Linked DNA regions of Homo sapiens: all the other regions are linked to region 3. The links are contacts of gene promoters, found by promoter capture Hi-C in human tissues and cell types (Jung and others, 2019). All regions are on one chromosome and are shown on one strand. The core of a region is centred on a gene start or on the middle of the fragment in contact, and the rest is flanking DNA. Distances in the headings are between cores, read along the strand shown. Region 1 has its middle 440 kb from the start of NBAS. Region 2 has its middle 450 kb from the start of LRATD1. Region 3 holds the start of NBAS (NBAS subunit of NRZ tethering complex).

The links. The method cuts DNA at HindIII sites, captures the fragments that hold promoters and counts their contacts. A contact is called where the count stands out against the background at its distance.
Region 1: a contact is called between a fragment that was not itself captured here and the fragment with the promoter of NBAS in region 3, in 2 of the 25 tissues and cell types used here (H1 embryonic stem cells and lymphoblastoid cells).
Region 2: a fragment that was not itself captured here is called in contact with the fragment with the promoter of NBAS in region 3 in 2 of the 25 tissues and cell types used here (mesendoderm cells and thymus).

What each region holds. Positions count from the first base shown.
Region 1 is chr2:15,123,957-15,127,305 of GRCh38, forward strand. It overlaps a transcript of NBAS not described here. Among named protein-coding and RNA genes, the nearest start is that of NBAS, 440 kb to the right of the region's middle. The HindIII fragment of the contact is 4,483 bases long and covers 1-3,349 here.
Region 2 is chr2:15,080,043-15,083,473 of GRCh38, forward strand. It overlaps a transcript of NBAS not described here. Among named protein-coding and RNA genes, the nearest start is that of LRATD1, 450 kb to the left of the region's middle. The HindIII fragment of the contact is 3,780 bases long and covers 1-3,431 here.
Region 3 is chr2:15,559,430-15,562,795 of GRCh38, forward strand. NBAS (NBAS subunit of NRZ tethering complex) reads right to left here and starts at 1,905. Exons shown (of 52, transcript NM_015909.4): 1 at 1,759-1,905. The coding sequence starts at 1,875. LOC105373440 (a long non-coding RNA gene) reads left to right here and starts at 2,719. Exons shown (of 4, transcript XR_001739297.2): 1 at 2,719-2,754. RefSeq lists an enhancer at 1,695-2,104. The HindIII fragment of the contact is 7,047 bases long and covers 1-3,366 here.

The DNA.
Region 1 (3,349 bases), core at 326-2,825, 440 kb before region 3:
GAAGGCTTAGAGAAGACAGGAAGACAAGGGAAAGCTTGGAACTTCTTCGAGATCAGTTAAGTGATTGTGAGCAAAATTCTGGTAGAGATATGGACGGTGAATTCCAGGCTGACAAGGTCTCAGATAGAAATGTGGAAGCTATTGGGAACTGGAGGGAAGCTCACCCTAGTTATGCCCTAGCAAAGAGCTTGGCTGCATTGTCTCCATGTCCTACGGCTTTGTGGAAGTCTGAACTTGAGAGTGATGACTTATGGTACCCAGTGGAAGAAATTTCTAGACAGCAATCTGCCCCTACAGGCTTACCACCACATGGATGCTGGCAAGGCTTATGGCTTGTGTCCTAAGTGTTCAAGAAGTGGAATAGTTGCTTCTAACAGCCTACAATCAGAGGAGGGAGCAAAAGAATAACTTAGAGTTGGAACTTATGTTTAAAAGGGAAAGAGAGCATACAAGTTTGGAAAATTTACAGCCTGGCCCTATGGTAAAGAAAGAATCCAAGCAGGCTGTAGAGCGACCACTTGCTAGAGAGATTAGCATGACTCAAAGGGAGCCAAGTCCTAACATCCAAGACAATGGGAAGAAAGATCTCAAAGATATTTCAGAGATTTCTAACACAGCTCCTCCCATCACAAGTCCAGAGGCCTAGGAGGAAAGAATGGTTTCAGGGGGCAGGCCCAGGGCCCGTTCTCCTGCTCAATCTCAGGACACTTGCTGCATCCTGGCTACTCCAGCTCCAGCTGCAGCTCAAAGGGCCCCAGGTACAGCTTGGACTGCGACTCTGGAGGGTTCCAGTCATAAGTCTTAGCATCTTCCATGTAGTGGTTAAGCTTATGGGTGCACAGAATGCAAAGCATGAGGGAGGCTTAGCGGCTTCCACCTAGATTTCAAAGGACGTATCAGAAAGCCTTAGTGCCAAGGTAGAAGCCTGATGCAGGGGTGGAGCCCCCACAGGGATACTCTACTATGGCAGTGCTGAGGGGAAATGTGGGGTTGGAGCCCACACACAGAGTCCCCACCGGAGCACTGCCTAGTGGGGCTATGGGAAGGGGGCTGCCATCCTCCAGACCCAAGAATGATAGATCTCCCAGCAGCTTTCAACCTCAGCATGGAAAAGCTGCAGGCACTCAACTCCAACCTGTTAGAGCAGCTACATGGGCTATATACTGCAAAGCCACAGGATGGAGCCACCCAAGGCCTTGGGAGCCCACCTGTATTAGTCTGTTCTCACACTGCTATAAAGAAATACCTAATTCTGGGTAATTTATAAAGAAAAGAAGTTTAATTGGCTCACAGTTCTGCAGGCTATACCAGAAGCACAGTTCTGGCATCAGCTTCTAGGGGGGCCTCAAGAAGCTTACAATCATGGCAGAAGATGAAGCAGGAGCAGGCACATCACTAGAAAAAGCAAGGGCAAGGAAGAGAGGGGAGAGGTGTCATACACTTTTAAATGACTAGATCTCACAAGAACTTACTCACTATCACGAGGACAGTGCCAAGAGGATGGTACTAAAGTATTCATGAGGGATCCACTCCCATGATCTAGTCATCTTCCACCAGGCTTATCTAAGACTGGGGATTACAACTGAACATGAGATTTGGCCAGGGATAGAGAACCAAACCATATCACTAATCCTTGCTCCGGTGTTCCCTGGATGTGAGACATGGAGTCAAAGGAGATTATTTTGGAGCTTTAAGATTTAATGACTACCCTGTTACGTTTCAGACTTGGGTTGGGCCTGTTAACTTTTTCTTTGGGCCAGTTTCTCCCTTTTGGAATGGGAATGTTTACCCAATGCCTGTACCACCATTGTATCTTGGAAGTAAGTAATTTGGTTTTGATTTCACAGGCTCATAGGTGAAAGGAACTTATCTCCAGATGAGACTTTAGTCTTTGGACTCGGAACTTGGAGCTCTTGATTAAGTTGATGCTGGAACAAGATAATACTCTGGGAGACTATTGAGAAGGGATGATTGTATTTTGCCATGTGAGAAGGACATGAGATTTGGGGGACTGGGGCAGAATAATATGGTTTGGATATTTGTCTTCTTCAAATCTCACGTTGAAGTGTGATCTCCGGTGTTGGAGGTAGAGCCTGGTGGGAGGTGTTTTGGATTCTCATGGCAGATCCCTCATGAATGACTTAGCACCATTCCCTTGGTGACGAGTGAGTTCTCACTCCGAGTTTATGTGAGATCTTGTTGTATAAAAGAGCGTGGCACCTCCCCTCTCTCTATTTCTCACTCCTGCTCTCCCCATGTGACATGCTGGCTCCCTGTGGCCTTCCTCCATGATTATAAGCTTCCTGAGGCCCTCACCCAAAGCAGTTGCCAGCACCATGCTTGTTGTACAGCTTGCAGAGCTGTGAGCCAATGAAAGTTATTTTCTTTAGAAATTACCCAACCTCGGGTATTCCTTTACAGCAATGTGAAAACACACTGATACAGGAGCCCTGGTAGAGGAATGGGGAAGACACAGGGAAGGGAAAGTGGCCACTAAGGAATGTGTTATCATGCCAGCTACCTCTCAGGGGGGCATGAGGCTTAATACCACTGGGAAAACTCTGAGATCCCCAGTAAGAAACACAGATCAGAGGTACCTCACCCGAGGGGCAAGGGAGCTGGGGTACTGATACTCCACACTCCCTCAGCCCATGGCTGAAAGATGACAAAGGAGAGTGGTGGTAATTATTTCTCTGTCAGCAGCAAGAGAAAAGCCATCAGCCTAGCAATGCAGGTGGCAGCATTTGGAAGGCAGTTGGTAGGTACTAAGGAGGGACAGGTGGCCATGGCAGGGCACCAGCAACACTGCTATGAAACACTAAGATTTAAAGCTCTTACTAGATATCATACACTCTGCTAAGCACGCTACAAACTTGATTTCATTTCATCTTTACAATATCACCATAGGACTGATATTTTTAGCTCCACTTCACAAAGGAGGAAATAGAGGTACCTTCTTCACCTGCCCAAGGTCAAACAACCAGTAACACACAAAACTGAGAATTGACTGAGGTTTGTCTAGCTCAGCATACAGCTCCTTGATTTTCCCACTACATCTTGGTCCCTCTAAAGCCTCGGAATGCCCTGGGGGCAGGGCCAGCCTCACAGATATGTGGCCCAGGAAGTCACAGACGGCCCCATGCTCAGAGGATCCTGCACTTGGTTTAATGCTATGCAATTTTTGAAAGAGGGGCCCGTTGTTTTCATTTTGCACTGGACTGCAAATTATGTAGCAGGTCCTGCCTCATGGCCTTGCTCACCCAAGTTCTAATCTCCCTAGGAAGCACATCTCAAACTCTTAGCTGCTTAAAATCTCACTGACTTAGATTTAATTGAAAAATCCTTTCCA
Region 2 (3,431 bases), core at 560-3,059, 480 kb before region 3:
TATGAGAAGGCAAAGGAGAACAAGCCCCACCCTCATCCCATGAGCCAGACCACCTTCCCCAGAAGCAAGTCCCATCATACCATGAACACCACAGCCATGTTCCATCCAAGAAAGAGAACAGGGATTCCTCCTTCAACATTAGTAGAAGACTCATGGCTGAAAGAAGACAGTCCTTTCTCCTCCAGAACTCCAGAATCATGATGGTCAATTGTGCCCCTTTAAGCCCAAGAGTTCACATGCACCTAGAGATAAGGTATTAAATCTGAACTGAAGAAGACAAGGTCTCAGTCCTAGAGATTCAACTTCAGAGCCACAGCCATCCCTAAATACTTTCACGTGCCAGTTATACTCCTGTATCTCTCCAGAAACATTGTCCTTGTTTGACCAACACTTGAAGCTCTCCCCAGTCTGGGCAAGAAAGAGGGCTGAAAGATGATTATTCTGGTTATCTATTACTGAATAACAAATCACTCCAAAACTCAGTGACTTTTTAAAAAACAACCATTTGACTATATCTCACAATTTATGGATCAAGAACTTGAGCAAGGCTCAGCTGGGTAAGTTTTCTGCTTCATAAGCCATCAACTGAAATCACTCAGGGAAATTCAGCTGGTGGATGGGTTAGTTCAGAAGACCCGACAGCTTCACTCCCATGTCTGGCACCCTGGTGGGGGTGGCTGGAAGCTTGGGCTCAGCTGAACTGTTGGACTGAGGAGTCCACCTGTGACCTTTCAGCATGACAGTTTCAGGATAGTCACACTTCCACCTGGGGGGATGGAGCTCTCAGAAAGAAAATTCAAATATCCGGGAAGTACAAGCTTTCAATTTCTTAGGAGCCATAACAGCATCCCTTCCAAACATTCTTCTGTTGGTCACAAAGCCCACCCTTATCCAAATGGTTGAGAAACAAACCCAGCCCTTGATGGACAGCTGCCAAGGAATTTACAGCCGCTTTTCAACCTCTAGATAAAAACGGGCCACCATGCAGAGGCAGCTGACTCTTTTTCCTGAATTATTTCTGTCTCTTGGTGGTCTTCTCACACATATGCCCAAGATCCCTCAATCAACCAGTTACCTCTGGCTCAAGCAAAGCAAAAACCTTTTTCCTTGTGACCCAAACAATCCCTGGTCTCACCAGACTGAAGGTTGCAATGGGGTCCTATTAACTTTAATTTAGGATTTTGACTTGGTGCTATCCCTACCCATATCATTGTTAACTCCTCACTCTTCACTATAAGTCTCCCTAAGCTACTTCTGGGGGTTTCAGGAGGCAACTCCAAGGAGGTATGCCCAAGACGGTGTGCTCAGGAGAAACTAAACTCAGGTCGTTTATGGATCTCCTCACTCTTCATGAGATCCTCCACCTAGATATAAATATAGAGATGTCTCATATACCATACTTATACATTTACTTACTATGATTTTATAAGAACAGTCCAGTGTATCCAGCCAGAGCCTCCAACTCAACAGTCAACAGTCCACTGGCTATCCCAATGCCCACGACCTCTTCATCCAAAGGCATTGCGCAAGAATACCATTCTGGAAAGAGCTGCTCACAAGGCAGCCACATCCTTCTCCAGACTTTTTTCACTAGAAAGAGATGCCCCAGCGTCCCAGGAACCTCTCCCTCTTCCCTATCGTGTGTAATTATGGTCAGGGGTCTCTCCCTCTTAAACCCAGAGCCTGTAAGATGACTGCCCTTAGTTCGCTGGTCAACCCAGGTGTGACTCAGATTAGATGGATCACACAGCCCCAGTTGTTTGACACTTTGGCTGCTGCCTGGAAGGATGGCCTTTTGGTCCACAAAGAGAGGGTGCATATTTGGCAGACATTATAACATTGGCTGGAGTCAGGCACATGTGGGTTAGAATCACAACTTTTCCACTCACTGACTATGTCACCCTCAGAAAGGTGTTTAATCTTTTGGCCTCAGTTTCCACATCTGTGAAATGAGAATAATGATATCTATCTACCAGGGAAATTGTAATAATTAAATAAAGCAAGACAACTTAAAACAGACTCTGCTCCCCAACAAAAATGTGTGTAAAAATGGTAGCTATTAATAAGATAAGGATGGTGGTATTGGTGGTGGTGGTATTATTGGACCAATTTACCTGGTTTTGTGCATGAGTACCCTGTCATGCCCAGGACCTTGTAACACCCATGACTCCACGTTACACAGCTCCTTACTTATGCCCCAGTTAGTTTACTCTCACAATGCCCATGTCATTCATCCATGAATTCATGTATTCAACAGGTGTTTATGGAGTCACTATAATGAGCTGAGCATTGTGCCAGGAGCCAGGGATGCAGCAGTGAAGAGGAAAGATGTGGTCTCTACCCTAACGACTCCTCTAACATCACTTGCTCATTTCATGTTCTGAGTCACGTGACAGCAGACCATCTAGACTCACAAATATCAGAGCTGGAAGGTCACTTTCACTCTCTCTGGGCCTTTAATTCGGCTCCATGCTGCACCCCAGCTCCTGACCCAGTTTGGCTCCCAGCACTCCTACTTGGTTATGCTCTTACATTCTCTCTCTTGCTCCCTCCTTTACCAGATTCCCTGAGCAAACAGCCCTACAGAATCATTCCCAGAGCCCCCAAGGAGGCAGGGTTTGCATCAGCCTGCCCAGCCAGCACCCTGGACCCAACAGCTCACTTCCCCAAACTTAGAGAGCTACAAAGATCATAAGAACTATCTTTTCCTAGGTACTGCCAAAGCACATGGCATGCATTCTCCCATTTACTCCTCCTGGTATCTGTGTTGGGAGCCATGGTCTCCAGTTTACCGAAGAGGGAACTGAGACTTTGAGGAGTCACAAGACATGCCCACAGTCAGCTGACATGTAGTAGAGCCAGGGCTCAAACCCAGCTTTGTGTAAAAGTTGAAGATGGGACACTGGATATAACTGAAGCTACACAGAAAGTTAATGGGCAATTCCCCCCCACCATGTTTTGGGGGGTTATTCATCCTTTGGAATATTTCCATTTGCATGAGTCTCCCTGTAGTGGGCCTGGCAGTTAATTAGGAGGAAAGCAGCTATGTGCAGGATGGAGCAAAAGTGTGGGACACCATGGAGCTCATCTTAAGTGGAGGGACAGCAACTTGCCCAGTACCCCTCTCCCACCCCTGGGTACCTGGCTGGACTGTGCTTTCCTTCAATACCCCATTATCCTGGAGCTGAGCTGAGTGGGTTTCCACTTTCGCAACAGTGCTCCTGAACTAAATCATCTGCCCACCAGGCAAAGCCTGCCTTCTTCCCTCTCCATCTCCACAGTGTGTAGCCATGTGGGTGCCCAAAGCTGTGACTGAGTACACAGCAGCAGCCTTTTAATGCTTTTAAAATAAAACTTGGATTTTCTTTCTTTTTCTCCCCAGGTTTGTTCAGAAGGAACAAAATGTCCTAGTCTATTCCACATGGAATAGG
Region 3 (3,366 bases), core at 655-3,154:
GAACACACCGTGGGTAGGTTCATGACGCTAGGCACTGCATAAGATGCACTAAAGTGCTGTCAAGAAAAGCACAATGGACATACAGTAAGTGTAGACAGATTTTTTTAAAAAACACAGAAAAGTTATTTCACTCAATAAACATGAATTGATTGTTGGATTCATGCAAGACACAATTTGGCCCTGGGAAGAGATATAAAGATGAATCAGATGTCTGCCCTCCAAGAGCTTATAATTCAACAGCTGAAATCAACAGAATGCAGAAATCGATAGAATGCAGAAATCAATTGAACTCCCCCACCCCCAACACACAAACACAAAACAAAGTGCTAAGGGTTTCAAAGTAAGTTAATTCTGTGGTTACTTTTTTGGAATCAATTTATGGTAAGCATTCTGAAACATTACTGCAATTAACCAATGAGTGTTAAGGAGTGGAAACTTATCTAACCAGCTGCCTCAGCAACAGCTTCCTAGCTGCATAACCCAAAAAATATTCACATTAAGACAAACTAAGTACTTGAAATTAAACAGTAATATATGCAGATCTCTACCCGTCTACAAAATAAATTATTCATGATAAGCACAAACTGCAGTGGGAAGGAGGCTACAGAGGAAAAAAATACAAACTTTGGGCTGAAAAATGAGTCGTTTCTCCAGCAAAGAAACACTCAGAAAAAATGTAAGATAACTCACATGGGCTGGACTACATAATCTTTAATAAAGGTTCTTTTCGATCTGGCTGCTTCCTCTGGGTCTAAAACAGTAACTGGCACGTGTTAAGCACTCAATAAATATCTGTTAAATAAACATGGATCCAAAAAATAATAATAATAAAAAATAAAATAAAATAAACATGGATCCATGGTTCCTACTCTTCATCACAGACCCGGGAGGCCTTCACTACCAAACAACTGATAATCCCAAGATCCAGTCCATAAATTATCAACCTCTATAACCCTTCTGTAGCGGAGATCCCAATCCCAGTCAGCAGCTCTTTACTCTGCACTTCCGTGGCATTTTGCTCACATCGCTAACTATAGCGCATAAAACGCTAGGTTATGAAAAACGTTTACGGGACTGTCTCCCCTCTAGACGAGAAGCTCCACGAAAACATATTCATCTCTGTATCCTTAGCACCTAGCACAGCACCTGTGACACCGAGACAGACGAACGGACACGCACACCCTTATTAAATGCTCTTTTATTGAAACACACAAGACCTGGCGCGATCCAGCCCCCAGTATGGGTAAAGGCTCAGATTCTGCGCTCTGCACCAGCCTGGCAGATGCTGCAGACTGTAAGGTCCTGGAAAATTCTCCCATCGCAGTTGAGCGTCGGCCCAGACTAGCCCTAGCCAGACCGCGAGAAGGGACCACTGAGGGTCCAGATAGGAGAAAGGACCCTCGAGTCCAGCGCTGTGCCTTCCCCTCCTAATACAGAGAGCGACACTAACAATCCCCTCTCCTCCCAATACAGAGAGCGAAACTGAGAACCAAAGTGGGATCGTACGCTCCCCAGAGCACGAAGTTCCAGCCCCCAACAACCGAATTCTGAGCCCAGGAAGAATCTCAGGGACCACCACCCCACCCCGCCCTAGACCCCCGCTAGCCCAAGGTGCCGTTGCCAAGGCGACCGCACAAGCCAACCGGCCCTAGTCCCCCACCCACCCGTCTCCACTCCCCTACGTGGCTCCTGCTACGTGGCTCTACCCACGAAGCGCCCGCGCCAAGCTGGCTGCTGCTGTAGATGGGCCTGGTTCACCTGTACTTCAGTCTCCGGTGGCCACTCGGTGTTGACCAACAAGTCATAGAGAATCGTCTCCTCCTCACCCTCTGCAGTGCCTGGACTCAAAGCCGGCCCTGACTCGGGGGCCGCCATGTTCGCCGAGGACTCAGGCAGCGGAGGAGTGTCTCTACGGAATCCCTCACAGGACAAGCTTCTCTATCCGCGGCCGCTTTTGTTTCACGGCAAGGAAATGCTAGGTTAACCCTTTTATGAGTAGGAAGGACAGGGACTATTGCTTGTCTTGGGAACGACTTGTGTCCCGGTCCTGATACACTCCTTGTTCATTAATCTACATGAGATCGGCCAAGTCATTGAGCCTCTCTTATAACTCAGTTTCCATAAAACAGAAATGGTAAAGGTACCCCACTGAAATGCTAATGTTCATTTGTATATTCTTTGCCTAACACGTAGAGAGAGTTCAAACAGTGGTTTTAAAATAAACAACTAAAGTTATCCAATGAAAGGTAGCAGAGGAAGGATGCTACAGGAGCTCAGAAAAGGCAACGAAGGCCAGAGTCTGCAGGGATTTCCTGGAGGACGTGGAGCTTGTCCCTGCGTCTTTAACAATAGGCAGAATTTTAATCTACTGGAGAAGCATTTCAAGTAGCGGGAAATGGAATGAGCAGAGACAGAGGCAGAAATACAGAGTTGAAAGAACTCTTTCAACGTGTCGCCAGTGAGTGACGACTTTCTCAGTGTGGGAGTAAAAGAATTTACCAAGACAGTGGTAGATAAAGAAAGACAGATTAAAGAAAGTATGAAAGTTCGTTGCCAGGGAGCAGCGGGCCGACTCAGCAGAGGAGGAGCTCATTGCTAGGAAACAAAGGCTTGTTGAGAATTTTATAGACTGGAACTTGGAGTGATTGATAACACCAGGTAGCAGGGAGTTAACTTGCTTTTTTTTTTTCTTTCTTTCTTTTTTTTTTTTTTTTTTTGTCAGCTGAAGTGTTTCAGAAATTGAGGCATTTGAAGGTAAGCAGGAAGTTTGTGAGTTAAGTACGTTATCTGGGTAGAAGGGCCATATGTCCTGGGCCATAAAGAAAAGTAGACCTATGGCTTATTTGTTTCTTCCTTTTGTTTATATGTTTTGGACCATGAAGAAAGACAGACGTATAGCTAATTTGCCTTATCTCTTTGTTTTTCCCTGCTCCCACTAGCCTGCCTTTTTTTTTTTCCTAATTAGTACTCAACAAGACGGGTGAATAGAACCCAAGTTGAGAAAGGGTGTAGGGGCAATAAAGTTGAAATAATAGGTTGAGAACCCGCATGGAGGGAGCGAAAAGGTCAACCCCATTTGTTCATTCATTCATTCATTCAACAAATACCTCTTTGTGGACAGTTATAAGCAGAGCCTACTGTAACATGAATGAATATATACTGTACAAAGTATTACACTGTTTCACATCAAAAGAAACACAAATACTGAATATCCCTTGAGATAATTATATTCATGATATCCATCAAGATGCATTAGGCGGTGATGCAATTAAAAGCCTCTGCTGGGAAGCCTCTAACCAGCTCCCATTTCTCTCAAAGTTTAATGACCTCAAAGCCCTACGTCATCTGCCTGCTCCCCTAAATCTC